Regions from separate parts of the Homo sapiens genome. Here all the other regions are linked to region 3. Evidence: promoter capture Hi-C in 16 types of primary human blood cells and fetal thymus (Javierre and others, 2016). All regions are on one chromosome and are shown on one strand. The core of a region is centred on a gene start or on the middle of the fragment in contact, and the rest is flanking DNA. Distances in the headings are between cores, read along the strand shown.

The links. Contacts are between HindIII fragments. The CHiCAGO score rates a contact against its expected background, and 5 or more counts as called.
Region 1: a contact is called between a fragment that was not itself captured here and the fragment with the promoter of ACBD3-AS1 in region 3, in 1 of 17 cell types (total B cells). The highest score is 5.7, in total B cells.
Region 2: a fragment that was not itself captured here is called in contact with the fragment with the promoter of ACBD3-AS1 in region 3 in 1 of 17 cell types (megakaryocytes); the score reaches 5.5 in megakaryocytes.

The regions. Positions count from the first base shown.
Region 1 is chr1:226,310,105-226,314,024 of GRCh38, forward strand. No RefSeq gene overlaps it. Among named protein-coding and RNA genes, the nearest start is that of LIN9, 2.9 kb to the left of the region's middle. The HindIII fragment of the contact is 2,637 bases long and covers 1,049-3,685 here.
Region 2 is chr1:226,338,209-226,342,135 of GRCh38, forward strand. No RefSeq gene overlaps it. Among named protein-coding and RNA genes, the nearest start is that of LIN9, 31 kb to the left of the region's middle. The HindIII fragment of the contact is 5,339 bases long and covers 1-3,927 here.
Region 3 is chr1:226,145,984-226,149,682 of GRCh38, forward strand. It overlaps ACBD3-AS1 (ACBD3 antisense RNA 1), which reads left to right and starts at 2,020. Exons shown (of 2, transcript NR_146443.1): 1 at 2,020-2,085. ACBD3 (acyl-CoA binding domain containing 3) reads right to left here. Exons shown (of 8, transcript NM_022735.4): 8 at 1-838. The coding sequence ends at 627. It also overlaps the pseudogene LOC124904586. The HindIII fragment of the contact is 12,330 bases long and covers 1-2,920 here.

The DNA of each region.
Region 1 (3,920 bases), core at 1,117-3,616, 160 kb after region 3:
ATTCATTTAACGAATGTCATTGAGCTCCAATCCTTTTCTCCAGGAATTTATGGGGGTTGGAGGAATGAGACCGTTAAGCAGTCAAAAGACAACGTGGGTGAATTCCAGGAACTACAAAGTTAAAAGGCGGTAGACTAAGGTGACAGAGTGGTACACAGAGGCCCGCCCAGGCTAAGGAGTTGAACTTGCTTAGTCCACTGGAGCAGTGGAAAAGTCGGGTGTAAGAGGGGCACGTTTCTATTTGTGTTTTAGAACAAAAATATGGGAAATGGATTGGTGGGGGACAAGATGAGAGCCTAGAAACCAGTCAGGAAGAAGCTTATTTGGGGCATGCAAAGGACAGAAGAGAGATGCCTGCACTGGTAGCTAGAGAGGTGCAGCGGGTGGGCTCTGGAGCCCCAGGGCCTCGATGGGAAGAATCCAGATGGGCTGCTAGTTGTATAATCTCAGGCACGTTGGTTTCTTAACCGAATTCTCTGTGCCTCAGTTTCTTATCTGTAAAATGCAAATAACAGGGTTATTTTGAGGGCTAAACGATTTGATAGATGTAAGGACCTTATACTAGCTGCTAGCACCCATCAGCTAGCCACTATTACCACCATTACCACAGCATAGGCAGTATTAGAGAGAGGTGGCAGCATGCACTCCACCTTTCAAGACGTGGAAAATAAAGGATTGGGTGAGTCACTGGGTGTGAGGAGAAGGAAGTCTCATTGCTGATGCCAGCTCTGTGCCTTGGGTAACTGGGTGCTGCCATGCTAAGGTAGGAGGGAGAGCAGGGAGTGAGCAGGGAGGGTGAAAGTTCAATTTTACAAAGTAATCCTTCCTTCAGAGCTAGCTTAACCTCTCCTTTGCCTTCTAAACACACTCTGATCTGCTCCCTAAGAAGATTAAAACACTGGTCCTTGTTGTCAGCACCTAGGGGGTGCTTCAGCAGCTTGCACTTCAGTATCAATTTGGAGATGAGATCAAGAAAAGGTCAGCCCTTTAAGAATGGAAGAATAGAAATTAAAAAAACATGAGAGGTTACCAGAGTGGGAGAAGCAAAAGCTTTGTGAATGTCATGATAGTCAAGGTGTCATTAGACCAAGGCAAACCTGGTTTTATTCTGAGGCAGTTTTCATGTACACGCAACAACACAACTACTGTTTAAATCAATGTTTTTAGGCCCTTGCCTGATAATCTGCATTTTAAACAAAAACTTTGACTCTTCTCATAAATCCAAAGCCTGAAGCTGTATCCTAGCCCCAGATCTAGCGCTTAGCTGTGTGATCGAAGCCAAGGCACACCTAACTCTTCAATAAGTTTCGTTATTGAATATTTATGACAGGTTTTACAATGATTGGCTTACTTGATTCTCCCAACAACCTGGTAATTTGTCCAAAGACAATGGCAAGCAAGTGCTAGAATCAGGAATCTAGCCCACTTTTCGGTGCCTCAGTGACTCCCTCTGTGATGGGAGGATTACACGTATGTCTTTGTCCATTTGTGCTGCTATAACAAAACATCTGAGACTGGGTAATTTATAGACAACAAGAATTTTTTTTTTTTTTTTTGAGATGGAGTTTTGCTCTTGTCACCCACGCTGGAGTACAATGGTGTGATCTCGGCTCACTGCAACCTCTGCCTCCTGGGTTCAAGCGATTCTCCTGCCTCTGCCTCCAGAGTAGCTGGGATTACAGGTGCCTGCCACCACTCCTGGCTAATTTTTGTGTTCTTAGTAGAGACAGGGTTTCACCAGTTTGGCCAGGCTGGTCTTGAACTCCTGATCTCAAGTGATCTACCTGCCTCAGCCTCCCAAAGTGCTGGGATTACAGGCATGAGCCACCGTGCCCAGCCGACAACAAGAATTTATTTCTCACAGTTTCAAACGCTGGGAAGTCCAAGATCAAGGTGCCAATGTTGGTGTCTGGTGAGGGCAGCTCTCTGTTTCCAAGATGGTGGCTCGTTGCTCCATCCTCTGGAGGGGATGCATGCTGTGTCCTCACATGGTAGAAGGGACAGAAAGGCAAGAGAACACCTCCTTCAGTCTTGAGCCCTTTCATAAGGGTGCTAACCCCATTCACGAGAGCAGAACCCTCATGACTTAATCACCTCCCAGAGGCCACACCACTTAATACTGTTGCATTGGGGATTATGTTACAACTGAATTTTGGAGGGAATACCATCATTCAAACCATAGCAACATGCAACACAGGGGTATTAAGTTTCCTGCAATCACTTATTCCAATTTAAAATGACATGACTGTGTGTGGTGTTTGCTTTTTAAAAAAAACAAACCACGGTGTGGATAAGGTCATTAAGTCATGAAAAACCTAAATAAAAATACACCATAAGAAACATCTCATGTACCATCATAAATATATCCACCTACTATGTACCCACAAAAATTCTAAAAAATTTTAAAAATACCATAAGAAAAATAAACATGGCCACGTTTTAGAAATACCAGGTTTGACCATTTCTAGTCCTGTGGCCTATTTATCAATTATTGGGTTGGATTATTTTTGTGAAAACAGTTGCAATGACTAAAGATAAAATGTGTGTGTTGGGGGCCTGGTGCAGTGGCTCACACCTGTAATCCCAGCACTTTGGGAGGCTGAGGCAGGTGGATCGCCTGAGCACCTGAGATCAGGGGTTTGAGACCAGCCTGACCAACATGGTGAAACCCAGTCTCTACTAAAAATACAAAACTAGCCAGGCGTGGTGGCTTGTGCCTGTAATTCAAGCTACTTGGAAGGCTGAGGCAGGAGAATTGCTTGAACCTAGGAGGTGAAGACTGCAGTGAGCTGAGATCACACCACTGCACTCCAGCCTGGGTGACAGGGTGAGACTCCGTCTCAAAAAAAAAAAAAAAAAAAAAAAAAGCGTGTGTGTGTATAGTATGTGTGTGAATGTTTTTATAAATACTTTTGATAAAGTTGGGAATTTGAGTTAGTAATGAAAAAACAAAGACAATTCAGTTTGCCTTGCTTGAGTATCTCAGCCATAATGAGGTAAAAAGGCTCTCCAGCCTATAAATATATATATTTTTAAGTTATGTTGCTGGTAGGACTCCACACTCAGCATTTCCTCTTCCAGCATCCAAGTACACCAGGAGTACTGATGGCCCCAGGATCTAGGTTCAAATTGCAGTTCACCTACTTCCCTTGTGTGTATTCTTGAACAAATTACTCTCAGTAGTAGTTTTTAGTTTTCTTCTCCCTTTCTTGAAGGGTTATCATGAAGATTAAATTACATATTGTAAATTAAGTGCCTACCAAGATCTCCAGTGACTGTTGGTATCCTTCCTTGATGAGAATCCCTCTTTTACAACATAAATATTCTCAAAAATGTGCCCAGTGGCCATCCTGGTAATTCCCTTCAGAATCATCTCCCTGAACATGTTCAGAGCAGTGGAAACAGGCGTGAGGAGTGAGAGCAGAAGACATGGGTTCTAAGCCTTGCTTTACCTCTAGTGAGCACCATGATCTCGGACAAGTCATTGAACCTTTCTGCCTTCGTCTTTCCCATTTGGGGAGTGAATATAACTACACTGCCCTACCTAGATCACAATGTGAGGATGCATGTCCATAAAATTGAGATAATAAAAGATAAAATTCTCTACATGTGCTAGATATTATGTATAACATCCAAGTTTAGTGGAGTTTAGTATGTTACACTACTCTAATGAAAACTATAACAAAGCTTTTTAAAAAATCATATACAATACAAATGTGAAACTCATAATGAACCAAAGACCTAAATGTAAAAGCTAAACCATAAAAATTCCTAAAAGAAAACATAGGTGTAAATCTTCATGACCTTAGATTAAGCAACAGTTTCTCAGCTATGACACAAAAGCACAATCAACCAAAGAAAGTATAAATTGGACCTCATCAAAATTAAAAATTTGTGTGTTTCAAAGGGCACTATCAAGA
Region 2 (3,927 bases), core at 719-3,218, 190 kb after region 3:
ATCATTCTCATTCCACTTCTAAAGCATAATTTCCTCTCAAACTATATGGATTTTTCTCTATATTTAGCTCTTGGTTTTTCTAATCTCCTCCCCCTCCCTTCCCCTCATGTTTTGCTTCGTTTGCTCCTCATACATTCCCGTTCCTGTTCCTTTAGGGAGAAAACTGACACACATACACACTCACTGAGGCCTCCCTCCAGTAGGGATTTTTTTTTTTTTCTTCTGAGACAGAGTCTTGCTCTGTCACCCAGGCTGGAGTGCAGTGGTGTGATCTCGGCTCACTGCAACCTCCGTCTCCCGGGTTCAAGCAATTGTCCTGCCTCAGCCTCCCGAGTAGCTGGGATTACAGGCACGCCCCACCACGCCCAGCTAATTTTTGTATTTTTAGTAGAGATGGGTTTCACCATGTTGGCCAGGATGGTCTTGATCTCCTGACCTCATGATCCGCCCACCTTGGCCTCCCAAAGTGCTGGGATTACAGGTGTGAGCCACCGTGCTTGGCCCTTTTTTTTTTTTTTGAGACAGAGTCTTGCTCTGTCACCCAGGCTGGAGTGCAGTGGCATGATCTAGGCTCACTGCAACCTCTGCCTCCCAGGCTCAAGTGATTCTTGTGCCTCAGCCTCTTGAATAGCTGGGATTACAGGTGCATGCCACCATGTCTGGCTAAATTTTGTATTTTTAGTAGAGACGGGCTTTCACCATGTTGGCCAGGCTGGTCTTGAACTCCTGACCTCAAGTGATCCACCTGCCTCAGCCTCCAAGAGTGCTCACACCACCACGCCTGGCTTTTGTTTGTTTGTTTGTTTTTGTTTTTTTTTTTGAGACAGGTTCTTGTTCTGTCACCCAGGCTGGAGTGCAGTGACGCAATCATGGCTCACTGCAGCCTCAACCTCCTGGGCTCAAGTGATCCTCCCTCTTCAGCATTCCAAGTAGCTGGGACTACAGGTAACTGCCACCACACTGACTATTTTTTGTAGAGATGGGGTTTCATCATGTTGCCCTGGCTGGTCTTGAACTCCTGGGCTCAAGTGATCCACTGCCTCAGCCTCCCTAAGTGCTGGGATCACAGGTGCATGAAACTATGCCTGGCTAATTTTTAATTTTTTGTAGAGATGGGGTCTTGCCATGTTGCCTAGGCTGGTCTTGAACTTCTGGGTTCATGCAATCATACAGGCATGAATCACTGCACCCAGCTGGGAAATCTTTCTAAAGTCCTTTATGTATTGAGAATTCTTCACTGTATCAGTTATACCTTGTGTTGTAAATAACAGAATCCCCTCACTTGAATGGATTTGGTTTCAGGTAATGAGAATCCTGGAGGAGGACGTCTTCAGGTTGGTGGATGTGCAGTTTGGGAAGGCTACCAGGGACCTAGGTGTACTCTCTCCTTACTCTCCCTTCCCCCAGCACATCAGCTTGTCCTCGGGAAAGCTCTTCTCACGGCACTGATGGTAATGACACACCTAGGAATCCCGACATCAGCATGCCCTTATTGTACCATCTCAGCTCACTGGAGCCTAGACCTCCTGGGCTCAAGCAATCCTCCCATCTCAGCCTCCCAAGTAGCTGGGGTCACAGGCACATGCCACCATGCTTGGCTAATATTTTATTTATTTATTTTTTTTGTAGAGACAAGGTCTCACTAGATTGCTCAGGCTGGTTTTGAATGCCTGGGCTCAAGTAATTCTCCTGCCACAGCCTTCCAAACTGCTGGGATTACAGGCATGATGAGCCACCACACCTGGCCACATGCACTTTTTTAACTAATGCACTAGTAAGGGCGATGGGACAACCATGATTGATTTAGACCAGAGGGGTCAAGTTAGCAACCAAGTGCCGGGGGTATGTGGAATCACCTGGGTAGCTTTAAAAACCACTGATGCCTGAGTGTCCATGCCCTCATCATCCATTTTCATTGGTGATTTGGTTTGGCTGTGTCCCTACCCAAATCTCATCTTGAATTCCCACATGTTGTGGGAGGAACTTGGTGGGAGGTAATTGAATCATCGGGGCAGGTCTTTCCTGTGCTGTTCTCGTAATAGTGAATAAGTCTCACAAGATCTGATGGTTTAAAAAATGGGAGTTTCTCTGCACAAGCTCTCTCTTTGCTTACTGCCATCCATGTAAGACGTGACTTGCTCCTCCTTGCCTTCCACCATGATTGTGAGGCTTCCCCAGACACATAGAACTGTAAGTCCAATTAAACCTCTTTCTTTTGTAAATTGTCCAGTCTTGAGTATGTCTTTATCAGCAGCATGAACATGGACTAATACAGTAAATTGGTACCTGTAGAGTGGGGGTGCTGCTGGAAAGATATCTGAAAATGTGGAAGTGACTTTGGAAATGGGCAACAGGCAGAGGTTGGAACAGCTGGAGAGCTCAGAAGACAGGAAAATGTAGGAAAGTTTAGAACTCCCTTTAGTTTAGACTTGTTGAATGACTTTGACCAAAATACCGATAATGATATGGACAATGAAATCTAGGCTGAGGTGGTCTCAGATAAAGATGAAGAACTTGCTGGGGACTGGAACAAAGGTGACTCTTGTTATGTTTTAGCAAAGAGGCTGGCAGCATTTTGCCCCTGCCCTAGAGATTTGTGGAAGTTTGAACTTGAGAGAGATGATTTAGGGTAGCTGGTGGAAAAAATTTCTAAGCAGCAAAACATTCAAGAGGTGACTTGGGTGCTGTTAAAGGCATTCAGTTTTATAAGGGAAGCAGAGCATAAAAGTTCAGAAAATTTGCAGCCTGACAATGTGATAGAAAAGAAAATCCCATTTTCTGAGGAGAAATTCAAGTTGGCTATAAAAATTTGCAAAAGTAATGGGGGGCCGAATGTTAACCTGCAAGACAATGGGGAAAATGGCCCCAGGGCATGTCAGAGGTCTTCACAGCAGCCCCTCCCATCACAGGCCCAGAGACCTATGAGGAAAAAATGGTTTCGTGGGTTGGGCCCAAGGTCCCCATGCTGTGTGCAGCCTAGGGACTTGGTGCCCTGCATTCCAGCCACTCTAGCCATGGCTAAAAGGGGCCAAGGTACAGCTTGGGCTGTTGCTTCAGAGGGTGGAAGCCCCAAGCCTTGGCAGTTTCCATGTGGTGTTGAGCCAGTGGGTGCATATAAGTCAAGAACTGAGGTTTGGGAACCTCCACCTAGATTTCAGAGGATGTATGGAAACACCTGGATGTCCAGGCAGAAGTTTGCTGCAGGGGCAGGGTGCTCATGGAGAACCTCTGCTAGGGCAGTGTGAAAGGGAAATGTGGGGTCGGAGCCCCCACACAGAGTCCCTACTGGGGCACTACCTAGTGGAGCTGTTAGAAGAGGGCCACCATTCTTTAGACCCCAGAATGGTGTATCTACAGCTTGCACCATGTGCTTGGACAAGCCGCAGATGGTCAACAGCACATGAAAGCAGCCAGGAGGGGGGCTATACCCTGCAAAGCCACAGGGGCAGAGCTGCCCAAGACCAAGGGGACTTACCTCCTGCATCAGTGTGACCTGGATGTGAGACCTGGAGTCAAAGAGATCATTTTAGAGCCTTAAGATTTGACTGCGCTGGGTGCGGTGGCTCATGCCTGTAATCCCAGCACTTTGGGAGGCCGAGGTGGGCAGATCATGAGGTCAGGAGTTTGAGACCAGCCTGCCCAACATACTGAATCCCTGTCTCTACTAAAAATACAAAAATTAGCCAGGCGGGGTGTCGGGCACCTGTAATCCCAGCTACTCGGGAGGCTGAGGCAGAAGAATTGCTTGAACCCGGAAGGTGGATGTTGCAGTGAGCCAAGATCATGCCATTCACTCCAGCCTGGGCGACAGTGCAAGACTTCATCTCAAAAAAAAAAAAAAAAAGATTTGACTGTCCCAGTGGATTTTGGACTTGCATGGGGCCTGCAGCTCCTTTGTTTTGGCCAATTTCTCCCATTTGGAATGGC
Region 3 (3,699 bases), core at 770-3,269:
AGTTTTGAACATTCTAGTTTAAGATTATCTCAGAAAATAATTCTCTGTAATATAACTCTGAACTAAACAGCTGCACCCAAAGCAGAAACAATCTGGGTCATTCTGAACGAGATCAAACTGAGGCCATTTCTTTTTCTATTATAATCTGTGAGGTGTTGAGTTTTTAAGTTTTAAAAATGGCCTTTAATCAAAGCCAGCTGCACCTGATATAGACTTGTTAACTTATGGATTTCAAATTAGAGGACACTGTAACTACGGGCTCTCATAAGACACATGGAGCAGGCAGCAAGGGGCTAACCATCAGCCGGGTAAGGTCAACGTTGGGGTGTTTTATTTTGGAGACTTTAAATATTTAACATGTAGCTCATGTAACTTCAGCATCCACTAGTGACTCTGCTGGTCAGCACCCAAGGGCTGGATGAGTCTGAGGAATCTCCTTTAACCCCAAAGTATGAATGCTAAAGAGTCTCAAGGAAATTTTGATTCCCAGCAAGAGTTCACAAACCATCAGACCAATATCAATAAGGTAAACTGTGACTCTAATGCTCCACAAAAGTAAAAAGAAATTTCCAAATTAAATGTCATCTTCTGCCCAACCCTAGACTCCAGACTTTGTAACAACATTTTTATCTAGTATAATAGACTCTGTAGTAGACTGATTTTGACCGCCACAAAGAGTAGGAGTTGTCAAACTTGAGGAGATAGACTCCTCTCCCTGGATATTGATGGCTGCCAGCATACACCTCCTCATGACAGTCCCGTCGGTACACAGGCACAATCTCATCCAGCAAAGGCTTGTTGGCATTCTTTTTGGCTTTCTCTTCACAACCGATGTTTTCTGTAAGAACAGAGACAAGTCAATGAACAGATTCAGGAAAACCACACTTGCATCAGGCAATTAAAATCTATCCTTTCTTTTTTTTCTGGAGACAGAGTCTTGCTCTGTCACCCAGGATGGAGTGCAGCGGCGTGATCTCAGCTCATTGCAACCTCCACCTCCTGGGTGCAAGCGATTCTCCTGCCTCAGCTTCCCAAGTAGCTGGGATTACAGGCGTGCACCACTACATCCAGGTAATTTTTGTATTTTTAGTAGACATGGACTTTCACCATGTTGGCCAGGATTGTCTCAATCTCCTGACCTTGTGACCCACCTGCCTCGGCCTCCCAAAGTGCTGGGATTACAGGCGTGAGCCACCGTGCCCAGCCTATCCTTTCTTTGAGAAACTGCTCTTGTTGGGAATTCTGTTGAACCATTTAACAAGTTATGTGCATGTGAGCATTTATTAGTTCGTTCATTCATTCATTCATTCACTCATTCATTCAAATACCTAAGTATGTGCTATACACCAAACCCTGTTCTGAGCCCTGGGAGCCCAGTGATGAACATCTAGTGGTAGCAGTGGTCAGCATCCTATCTCTTTCTGTGCTTACTACCATTCCTATTTCAAGGTCCCATTTTCCCCTTTCCATAGCCATTCAATTCCTAATTCATCCTCAGGAATTTCACTCATCTGAGTAACATGAAAATGTTGCTCTCATCATCCTCCTTCTGACCAATATGAGTCCTCCCCATTTTAGAAAGATGGAAGATGATTTGTGAGGACTATTGCTTTCTGTATATCTTAAATATAAGCAGTAAAATGAAAAAATCATAGTAGAGAGATAGGCATTCAGAGATACTCTGAAAATTCAATTATTTTCACTAGGCCAATTTAACCCAGAGATGATCTAAGTGGCAAAAAATGGGCTCTGAAAGGTTTGCCCCGGTTAAGAGTTTTTTGAACTGTAATGCTATGAGGTTAGGAAAAAAAATGCCTCTAGAAACCTACAGGAATGAGAAAATTATGAACCAGCTTCGAAGTCACAGTTTAACATATTTAATACAAACCAGCTCAAAGAGGTCAAGGGAGTATTCAGCACAGAAGACAAGACTTTCGGGTTTATGGTTGTTGTTTTTGTTTGTTTGTTTGTTTAAGAGACTGGGACTACAGGCATGGATTTTCAGGTTTATAACATGGCAGAGTGAATTCTGGCAACACACTGAGTGATGCTTGTCAATGGCCACTATCAGGAATTTAAAACAAGGTAAGTTTGAGAAATTCTCACCGTCTATAGCAGATTAAGGAGATATGATGACTGACTATAATGTGGCATCCTGGAAAGGATCTTGGAACATTAGGTAAAAACTAAAAACATCTGAATAAATATGGACTTTAGTTAATTAATGAATCAATGTATCAATATTGTTTCATTAGCTGTGATGAGTGCACCACAGTACAATGTAAGATGCTAACAACAGAGGGAACTTGGTGCAGGGTATATGGGTACTCTTTGTGCTATCTTTGTAACTTTTCTGTAAATCTAAAACTATTCTAAAATTAAAAGTTTATTTTAAAAAAGCAGATGGCACTCTTATAAAGGTAGGTCAAAACCAGATTTACTTAACCACAGAAATACCTATAATTAAGCATGTTTCACATGCAAATGAGAAATACAGAACCATCCAAAATGTACACTATTGTTGACATCCAAGAAATAGACTGGTCCATTGATTCAAGACTCAAATTTTGTTTTAAATCTATAAAACTAAAGATTACTGGGATAGATGAAAAGGCATCTTTTATGAATTTAAGCCAAGGTTTAGGACCTGTAAACAATGAAGAAAATGGAGAATTAAAACAGGAGGATGTGTTACCATCCATGCTTCTTCAGAGAAAGCAAACTCCTCTGTCTACCTTTCAAGACCTAAGGAAGAAAAACCAAACCAAAACCCAAAAAACTCAGACTCTTCTACCATATGAAATACAAGACACGGTAGGACAGTAGCTTCTAAGGCATATGGACAAATACAATTTGTGAGCTAAATCTTTAAATGGGATGAAGTGACGCTCATGTAATGAACAATTCTTAGGAATGATAAAGCTTCACTGCTGTGAGGCTAAAATGTTTTAGCTGCAAATCATTTTATGATTAGGAATGGTACAAGTACAGGGAATGCCATCTTTCATTTGAGGGACATATTAGAACTAAGATCAAGGATATTAAGGTTCTTACCTCTAGAAATGAACCCCTGCCATTTTCACTAGTGATCTTCCCAACACCAATATAACCCCAAAACTATCATCAGCTGAGGGTTCAGACTAGGCAGTAACCACCTTTTAGAAGCTCTCTAATAGGCAAGCCAGGAGAAATACATTACCTCAACCAACTTCTGAACAGAGAATTCTTATTCACAAAGCTCTTTCATTTTTTTTTTTTTTTGAGACGGAGTCTGGCTCTGTCGCCCAGGCTGGAGTGCAATGGCACGATCTCAGCTCACTGCAATCTCCACCTCCCGGGTTCAAGCGATTCTCCTGCCTCAGTCTCCCAAGTAGCTGGGATTACAGGCATGTGCCACCATGCCTGGCTAATTTTTGTACTTTTAGTAGAGATGGGGTTTCACCATGTTGGCCAGGCTGGTCTTGAACTCCTGACCTCAGGTGATTCACCCACCTCAGGCTCCCAAAGTGCTGGGATTACAGGTGTCAGCCACTGCGCCCAGCCATCTTTTTTTTTTTTTTTTTTTTTTTTTTTTTGAGATGGGGTCTGGCTCTGTGGCCCAGGCTGGAGTGAAGTGACTTGATCTCAGCTCACTGCAACCTCTACCTCCTGGGCTCAAGCAATTTTCCCACCTCAGCCTCCCAAGTAGCTGGGACTACA